Regions from separate parts of the Homo sapiens genome. Here region 2 is linked to region 1. Evidence: promoter capture Hi-C in human tissues and cell types (Jung and others, 2019). All regions are on one chromosome and are shown on one strand. Each heading gives the region's core, a stretch centred on a gene start or on the middle of the fragment in contact. The rest is flanking DNA. Distances are from core to core; before and after follow the strand shown. Region 1 holds the start of CALHM2 (calcium homeostasis modulator family member 2). Region 2 overlaps NEURL1 (neuralized E3 ubiquitin protein ligase 1).

Region 1 (4,830 bases), core at 2,331-4,830:
TTTCCATGAGGTGCACCTATCTCCATTATTTCAATTTCTATGCCCATTTTACAGATGAGGAAATGGAGGCCAAGAGGCAAGCTCACTTGCCCAATTTGTGCTCTTTGCCCTAGAGGCACTGGCATAGAGAGTGCTTTGGGAGTCTGAACAGGCTCGGAGGCCCAAGGACAGTGCCCCGTGACTCTCTCTCATCTTCCCACAGGCGCTGGGCTGGTCCTTCGTGCTGCTGACCACTCTGCTGGCATTCGTGGTGCGCTCTGTGCGGCCCTGCTTCACGCAGGCCGCCTTCCTCAAGAGCAAGTACTGGTCCCACTATATCGACATCGAGCGCAAGCTCTTCGACGAGACGTGCACGGAGCACGCCAAAGCCTTTGCCAAGGTCTGCATCCAGCAGTTCTTCGAGGCCATGAACCATGACCTGGAGCTGGGTCACACCCACGGGACACTGGCCACGGCCCCTGCTTCCGCAGCTGCCCCCACGACCCCCGATGGTGCGGAGGAGGAAAGGGAGAAGCTGCGTGGCATCACGGATCAAGGCACCATGAACAGGCTGCTCACGAGCTGGCACAAATGCAAACCGCCTCTGCGGCTGGGCCAGGAGGAGCCACCGCTGATGGGCAACGGCTGGGCTGGGGGTGGGCCCCGGCCTCCGCGTAAGGAGGTGGCCACCTACTTCAGCAAAGTGTGAGGTGTGGCCAGCTGAAGAGGCAGGAACGGGGATCTGAGCCCACAGCCCCTCCAACCCCCAAACCAGGTGGAAAAAGGAAGGGTTTCAGTGCTGGGCAGTACTCCCCTAGGCAGATCCACACTCCCTAGCACTCGCCTGCCCATTGGAGGCAGGAAATTTGGAGCTGGAAGGGGATCTGATGCCTTCAGGTGTGACACTGCCCTGGATGGCCCTAGGGCAGTGGGCCCATGAGCAGTATTAGTCTAAAGGGGTCGGAACTGTCATGGCAGGTACAGGGACCAATGGCTCCCCTCTGCCCAGCCCTTCCCAGGCTGATGTTCACTGTCTCCTCCCAGGTTCAACAGACATCCCTGCCCCAGGGTCCACCCTCGTCTGTGGCTGTTCAGTACCTCTCTTCCTTTATGCTCCGGGCTCGGGGAGTGGGAATCATCAGGCGTCTCATGAAGTGGGAGCCCTCTGATTTGGGCAAGCGTGTCGTAGGTGAGACTGGGTGTGCCGGGGCAGGTCCATAAGGACATGACACACAGCCTACCTGGTGTGACACACCTGGGGTGACAGGCGATGAGACAAGATGTCAGAAGCTAGGTTCACATGGAAGAGGTCAGAGTGTGTGGTCACCATGGGGGTCATGTGACAATTGTCCAGGTGGACTGCATGTTTATTTAGCACAAACCAAGCACAAAAGTCCTCCTGTAGAGGGGTCTTTGAAAAACCACCTTAATACCCCCGTCACATCCAGGTCTCCAGGGGAAATCAGACCATCCCCAAGGCTTGAGAAGTTAGACACAGAAGCTGAAGTCTCTCCATTTTTCTCAAAGACCCCACCTCTTGGGGATGGAGTTCTAAGAGGCTAAGAGGAGCTCCAAGGCTCTAGCCCAGGTGGGATGAGGGTGGAGGAGAGCAGTGTAAAGAGAAAGCAGCTCAGATTCCAGAGTGAGACAGAACTGGGTCAAATGGTGTCTCTACCACTCACAAACCCTGTCCCTGGGCCAGCTGCATCACTGCCTGTGCCTTCGTTTCTTCATCTATACAATGAGGATGAGGCCCCCCCGGCCCGCCATCATGGGGTTGCTGTGTGTAAAAGCACATGGCACATAGTAGGCACCCAGCACAGGGTGGCTAATGTATTTGTTGATTTCTGAACCTAAGGACTTCCTTCCTCCTCCCCTGGGCAGGGATGAGACAGCAACACAAACACTCGAGCTTCCATCTTGTTGAGGAGGAAACAGAGGTACAGATAGGTTTCTCAGCACCGCCCTCAGCTCTGAGACATAAGTCCCAAGCATCTAAGGATTCATTTTGATCTTGGCATGATTCCATCCTTTTTTATCCATCCTTCCCTCTATTCCCACTTCTGGGGTCCAGTTTCCCTCCTCTTAATTATTTGGGAGGAGTTGCTCAGATCTTTGTGGGCCAAGGTGGGCTGGGAGGGCTCTTCCAGGAGGTAGGAGTTGGTATGGGCCCTGAAGTCAGGGAGGATTAGGATGAGCAAAAAACAAGGTGTATGTTGGTGGGTGGCAGCACTTCCAGTGGGAAGAGAAGGCCCGGAGGTATCAGGAGGTACAAATGTGATGAAGAGCAAAGCTTTGGGTCAGGCACACCTGAGTTCAAATACCAGCACTGCAGGACTTGTGGCCAGTCACCCAGCCACTCTAAGCCTCAGTGTGTCTGTCTATAAAATGGATATTAGAAGACCTGCTTGGCCAGGCGGAGTGGCTCATGCCTGTAATCCCAGCACTTGGGAGGCCAAGGAGGGAGGATCACTTGAGCCTGGGAGTTGGAGACCAGCCTGGGCAACATAGCAAGACTCTGTCTCTGTAAAGTAATAATAATAATAAGAAGAAGAAGAAGAATAAAGAGAAGATTTATAATTTTTTTAAAATGAAAAAATTATTTTTTAAAAAAGACCTGATTTTCAGGATTGTGGTAAGGATAGAGGAAGATAACTTTTAGGGAAGGATCTGGGACTGTGTTTAGCACATGCTGGGATCTGAAACAAACAAATAAACAAGCAGAACTTGGTACCTTTTCTTTCCTTCGTACATATGGTCAAGCCCAGCTCAGGGAGGCCAGCGGGTCACTCGGCAGCTCCACCATGACGGAACCACGAGCACTGCAGAGCTGACAGATGTCGGGGGTCCTCTCCCTCCATGCTAAGGGTCATCTAGCCTGTCCGTAGACTCTCCTGTGCAGCATTCCTGACCCGTGACGCTTCAGCCCGCATCTTGACCACTTTTAGATACAGGCTGGGCAGCTCTGATTATTACACAGGGCTTCCTTCAGAAACCTGCCTCCTTGTAACTTTCACCCACCAGTTGGAGCTCTGCCTGCAGGACCCGGAGAATCCCTAGGCTCCTGAATTCAATCCTCAGCCCTCCAGGGATCCGAAGCAGGTCCCGGGGAGTTAGCTGACTATAGGTCAAAGAGTCAGCATTGGGGATGGTTTGTCCAGTCAATGGACAACTCTGAGGGAGAAGGGCCAGTAGAGGGTGGGGCCCTGGCCCTGAGCATCCTGCAGGGCTCAGCGCGGGCCTGACGACACCCTCCCTTGACCCTCGCGGGGTCTCCTTTGGTAGCTTCTGCCCAGCGGGGGTCAAGTACGTGGGGTGCTCTTGAAACTGTCATGGGGGGCAGGTCTGGGTCAGATCTCCCCAATGCCTCCACATCCCCACGTGGCCCTCCCGACTGGTCCCATTGGTGTGGAGCATGGCCCGGTCCGGGTCTGGGCCGAGGGCGGAGGGCCAGCACGGCCCAGGGACGGCGAGCAGCGGGTCGGTGGGACGCGCAGCAGCTGCAGAACAGGCATCTCAACTTCCTCTCGGCTCCTCTCCTCTCGCGCCGCCCTCGGGGCCCGCCCTCCTCTGCCTGGTGGCGCCGGGAGGCTGTTTTTCCACTCACTGGCGCGCAGACTCCATCCCACTGTTTTCTTCTCTCTTTTCTGGAGTTAGATTAGTCTGAAGCCGCCACCAGCCCCAGGCCCCCGTGCAGAAGAAAAGCGGGAGGGAACGGCGGAGGCCGCCGCTGCCCTGCACCGCCCTCCTGGAGGCCACTTGGAGAGTCCGGCCCCGAGGAGGCCATGGCCACAAGTGCCCACAGCTGGCCCCAGGTAAGGAAGGGGCCCTCCCTGGGGTGTGCCAGGTGTCAGCGGAGCATGGTGGGGCCTGTCCCACGCTGCCCAGAGGGAGAGAGGCCCCTAGCTGAGGTTCCCTCCACCCGGTTGAACAGGGAGCAGTCCTGCCCCTCCCCGAGCCGCCAGTCTCCTGTCGTCACTGATGTTGGAGGAGGTCCCACTGGGGGTCTGGATGTGACCCATCCTTGGCCTGGGGGCAGTGGTCTCAGAAGATGGCCTGGCCCATCCTCTGCTCACCACCCACCCTGTGCAGGTATCTTGTACCCCACTTTGAGCCAGTTTATGAACCCAGGGCCTCCACAGGGAGCTAATTAGGAGCCTAGAAGCCAAGAAGGGAAAAGGATGGGGCAAAGGGGGCTGACTTTAACCCATTCTTCCCCAGCAGTGATGCAAACTGCCTTTCCCAGGAAGTTAGGCTGGAAGCTCCAGGCTGTGAAGTGGGGGAAGAATCAGACTCCTCCTCCTCCTCCTCCTCCTCCTCCTCCTCCTGTTGTTCCTCCTGGTCCTCCTCCTCCAGCTTCTCCTTTTCTTGGAGTCTGCATGGCCACATGGCTCTGCCTGAGCCCATCTGGCAGCCTTCCTTGGCAGGGACAGAAGGGGTGATCTAGAAGGGGTGATCCCTCCATGAAGCATGGAAGGGAACAGGGCTAGGTCTGTGTTTGGCGCTCACCCCATCCCTCCACTCCCTGGCTTCCTCTGGCCTGGGGAGTTTTGTTTTTCACCCTCCAGAGGGGGAGGACATGGGGCCACACCCTGGCCTGTCTCTCAGGCTTGTGTGGGTGGAGGCTGGGAAGGGAGTTGGGCTAAACTTCGCTGTTGCCCGAGGCCATGGCCACTTCCCGGCAGGTTGCCAGCGTCGCTACAGCCCAGACCAAGGCAGAATAATCTCCGGATGAGCTGGTGGCACCGCTGAGCCTTTGGTCTCACCAGGGCTTCCTGTTGCTGGCAGGCGGGGTGGAGCGGAGCTGCTGGGAGGCTGCTGGATAGGAGAGGGGTCACGGCTGCGGAAGAG
Region 2 (4,830 bases), core at 989-3,488, 74 kb before region 1:
AATATAAAAATCTGGATCAGTCTTCTAATTATGGGCATATACTGGAATTGGGTAGCAACCCCAAATCAGCTTGGTTCCAACACTTGCCCAGTTCCTTGGTTCCAACACTTGCCCAGTTCCAGTTCCTGGGAAGTTCCCAGTTCTTTCCAGGAACTGGGCAAGTCACAGTCAAATACCTGTGACTGCAAACTAAACTTATCATTTAGTTTGGTTGGAATGCTTTTACTTATATTGATTTACTGTTGTGAAACATATTGCTGTTGTACTCTTTGTGCAGGAATGCAGGATAAGCTTACTCAACAATTTCTTAAATTGAACACTTATTCTTCTTCCTGATATCACCTTTTGTCAGAAGTCAGAGTTATGAATGACCCTCACCATACCAACATTTTCTTTTTCTTTTCTTTTTTTTTTTTTTTTGAGACGGAGTCACGCTCTATTGCCCAGGCTGGAGTGCAGTGGCACTACCTCAGCTCACTGCAACCTCCGCCTCCCGGGTTCAAGCGATTCTCCTGTCTCAGCCTCCTAAATAGCTGGGACTATAGGCACACACCACCACACCTGGCTAATTTTTGTATTTTTTTTTCTTTCTGTTCTTTTGAGACAGAGTTTCACTCTGTTGCCCAGGCTGGAGTGCAATGGTGCAATCTTAGCTCACTGCAACATCCGCCTACCGGGTTCAGGTGATTCTCCTGCCTCAGCCTTTGAGTAGCTGGGATTACAGGCACCTGCCACCACGCCCAGCTAATTTTTGTATTTTTAGTAGAGATGGGGTTTCACCAGGTTGGCCAGGCTGGTCTCAAATTCCTGACCTCAGGTGATCCACCCACCTCAGCCTCCCAAAGTACTGGGATTACAGGCATGAGCCAACGTGCCTGGCCTAATTTTTGTATTTTTACTAGTGACAGGGTTTCACCATGTTGGCCAGGCTGGTCTCAAACTCCTGACCTGAGATGATTGGTCCACCTCGGCCTCCCAAAGTGCTGGGATTACAGGCGTGAGCCATTGTGCCCGGCCTTTATACCAATGTTTTCTGACTGAGCTCCTCTCTACTCTAAATACAAGAGACCCTAATAGATAGAAATATCATCACCCCTATTCAGCCAGCAGAAGTTAGAGAAGATAGATATTCATCCCTCTACAACCCATAGGATTAAGGGTCCCCTTGTAAAATGGAGGGAGAAATATGTCAGAGGTGTTCAAACCAGAGCCACTCCATCTTCAACAGGGCCTGGGTAAAATGAGACTGAGATATGCTGGGCTGCATTCCCAGGAGGTTAGGCATTCTTAGTCACAGGATGAGATAGGGAATCACAAGATACAAGTCACGAAGACCCTGCTGATGAAACGAGATACAATAGGCCAGGTGCAGTGACTCATGCCTGTAATCCCAGCACTTTGGGAGGCCAAGGTGGGCAGATCACCTGAGGTCAGGAGTTCAAGACCAGCCTGGCCAACATGGTGAAACCCCATCTCTGCTACAAATATAAAAATTAGCCTGGCATGGTTGTGCATGCCTGTAATCCCAGCTACTTGGAAGGCTGAAGCAGGAGAATCGCTTGAACCTGGGAGGTAGAGGTTGCTGTGAGCCAAGATTGTGTCAGGGCACTCCAGCCTGGGCAACAGAGCGAGACTCTGCCTCAAAAAAAAAAAACCAAAAAAAAAAGAAAAAAAGTGCAATAAAAAAATCCAGCCAGTCAAAACCTACCAAAACCAAGATAGCAATGAAAGTGCCAATAGCATACTAAAAAGACACTCCCACCAGTGCCATAACAGTTTACAAATGCCATGGCAACATCCCTAAGTTACCCTATATGGTCTAAAGGGAGGAGGAACTCTCAGTTCCAGGCATTGTCTGCCCCTTTCCTGGAAAACTCGAATAATCCACCCCTAATTTAGCATATGATAAGAAATAACCATAAAAATAGCCAACCAGGAGCCCTCAGGGCTGCTCTGTCTATGCAGTAGCCATTCTTTTGTTTCTTTACTTCTCTAATAAACTTGCTTTTACTTAAAAAAAAAAAAAGATGATACCACAGAAATACAAAGGATCATTAGAGACTATTACAAACAACTATACACAAACAAATTAGAAAGCCTAGTCGCTATAACCTGGCATTCATATGCAGAAAAATAAAAGAAAACCAGCCAGCGTGGTGGCTCATGCCTGTAATCCCAGCACCTTGGGAGGCCAAGGCAGGTGGATCATGACGTCAGGAGTTCAAGACCAGCCTGACCAACATGGTGAAACCCCATCTCTACTAAAAATACAAAAATTACCCGGGCATGGTGGTACGCACCTGTAATCCCAGCTCCTTGGGAGGCTGAGGCCGGAGAATCACTTGAAACCAGGAGGCAGAGGTTGCAGTGAGCTGACATCGTGCCACTGCACTCCAGCCTGAGTGACAGAGTGAGACTGTCTCAAAAAAAAAAGAAAAGAAAAGAAAAGAAAACCTAGCAGAAATTGAGAAATTCCTGGACACATGAAATCTACCAAGATTGAACCAAGAAGAAATATAAAACCAGAACAGACCAGTTCCAAGTAACAATATTGAATCTATAATAAGTCTTCCATCAAAGAAAAGCACAGGACCTGATGGCCTCGCTGCTGAATTCTACCAAACATCTGAAGAAAAACTAATGCCAATTCTTCTCAAACTCTTCCAGAAAATTAAGGGGGAAAGAATTCTTCTAAACTTATTCAATGAGGCCAGCATTACCCTATACCAAAACCAAACAAGTACACAACAAAAAAAAGAAAGCTACAGGCCAATATCTCTGGTAAATATAGAAGCAAAAAATCCTCAACAAAATACTGGTCAACCAAATTTAGCAGCACATCAAAAAGATGATTCACCATGATCAAGCAGAATTTATCTCAGGGATACAACATACACAAGTCAATAAACACAATATATCACATCAACAGAATGAAGGACAAAAACCATATGCTCCTCTCAATAGATGCACAAAAAGTACTTGATAAAATTCAACATCCCTTCATGATAAAAACTCTCAACAAGTTAGGTATAGAAGGAGTATATCTCAACACAGTAAAGGCCACATAGCACAAAATCATAGCCAACATCATACTGAAAGGGGATAAGTTGAAAGCTTTTTCTCCAAGATCCAAAACAAGACAAGAAAGCCCACTATTACCACTTTTATTCACCACAGTAGTGGAAGTACTAGCCAGAGCAATTAAGGAAGAGAAAAAAATAAAGAGCATCCATATTAGACAACAGGAAGTCAGATTGTCCCTATTTGCATATAAACTATCATATATAGAAAAACAAAAGACTTACAGTCACGATGGCTCACACCTGTAATCCCAGCACTTTGGGAGGAGGAGGCTGGTGGATCACTTGAGGTCAAGAGTTGGAGACCAGCCTGGCCAACATGGTGAAACTCCATATCTACTAAAAATACAAAAAGTGGCCCAGCATTGTAGCGCACACCTGTAATCCCAGCTACTTGGGTTGCTGAGGCAGGAGAATGGCTTGAACCCAGGAGGAGGAGGTTGTAGTGGGCCGAGGTGATGCCACTGCACTCCAGCCTGGGCAACAGAGTGAAAGTCTGTCTCAAAAAAAAAAAAAGAAAAAAGAAAGAAAGAAAGAAAAAAAACTCCACCAAAAAAACTCTGAGAACTAATAAATGAATTCAGTAAAATTTCAGAATACAAAATCAACATACAAAAATCAGTAGCATTTCTATACACCAACAACAAACTAGCAGAAAAAGAAACACAGCAATCCCATTTACAATAACTACAAAAAAAAAATCTAGGAATAAATTCAACCAAAGAAGTGAAAGATCTCTACAATAAGAACTGTTAAACACTGATGAAAAAAATTGAAGAGGACATAAAAAAACTGAAAGACATCCATGTTTATGGATTAAAAGAATTAATATTGTGAACATTACCATACCACCCAAAGCAATCTACAGATTCAATGCAACTCACAACAAAATACCAAAGACATTCTTCACAGAAATAGAAAAAACAATCCTAAAAATTCTATGGACCCCACCCCCCATATAGCCAAAGCAATCCTGAGCAAAAAGGACAAAGCTAGACATATCACACTACCAGACCTCAAAATATATTAAAAAGACCAAAACAACATGGCACTGGCATAAAAACAGACACATAGACCAATGGAACAGAATAGGAAATCCAGACATAAACCCATGTATTTATAGCAAAACTGATTTTCAATAAAGGTGACAAGAACATTCACTGGGGATGGAACAGTCTTTTCAACAAATGATGCTAGGAAAACTGGATATCCATATGCAGAAAAATGAAACTAGAGCCGTATCTCTCACCATATATAAAAATCAACTTAAAATTGGCTAAAGACTTAAATGTAAGACCCAAAACCATAAAACTACTAGAAGAAAACATAGAAGAAATGCTTCAGGACATTGGTCTGGGCAAAGATTTTATAAAGAAAACCTCAAAGCACGGGCAACAAAAGCAAAAGTAGACAAATGAAATTATATCAAACTAAAATGTTTCTGCACAGCAAGGGAAATAATCAAGAGAATGAAGAGATCACCTGCAGAATAGGAGAAAATATTTGCAAACTATTCATCTGACAAGGGGTTAATATCCAGAATATACAAGGGACTCAAACAACTCAACAGCAAAAAACAAACAAAAATCCTCCAATTAAAAAACAGGCAGATGAGCTGAATAGATATCTCTCAAAAGAATGCAGACAAAACCAACAAGTATATATTTTTAAATGTTCAACATCACTAACCATCAGGGATATGCAAATCAAAATGACAATGAAATATCATTGCACCCCAGTTATAGTGGCC

What was found. Contacts are between HindIII fragments. The study calls those that stand out against the background at their distance.
Region 2: a contact is called between a fragment that was not itself captured here and the fragment with the promoter of CALHM2 in region 1, in 2 of the 25 tissues and cell types used here (mesenchymal stem cells and mesendoderm cells).

The regions. Positions count from the first base shown.
Region 1 is chr10:103,451,120-103,455,949 of GRCh38, reverse strand. It overlaps CALHM2 (calcium homeostasis modulator family member 2), which reads left to right and starts at 3,580. Exons shown (of 4, transcript NM_015916.5): 1 at 3,580-3,794; 2 at 4,665-4,830. It overlaps CALHM1 (calcium homeostasis modulator 1), which reads left to right. Exons shown (of 2, transcript NM_001001412.4): 2 at 203-2,710. The coding sequence ends at 688. It overlaps LOC124902494 (a long non-coding RNA gene), which reads right to left and starts at 3,507. Exons shown (of 2, transcript XR_007062275.1): 1 at 2,714-3,507. RefSeq lists a silencer at 3,179-3,508 and enhancers at 3,347-3,968, 3,969-4,589, 4,538-4,830. The HindIII fragment of the contact is 12,335 bases long and covers 1,022-4,830 here.
Region 2 is chr10:103,524,125-103,528,954 of GRCh38, reverse strand. All of the region lies in intron 1 of NEURL1 (neuralized E3 ubiquitin protein ligase 1), which reads right to left. Among named protein-coding and RNA genes, the nearest start is that of NEURL1-AS1, 9.1 kb to the right of the region's middle. RefSeq lists enhancers at 371-871, 872-1,372. The HindIII fragment of the contact is 4,400 bases long and covers 39-4,438 here.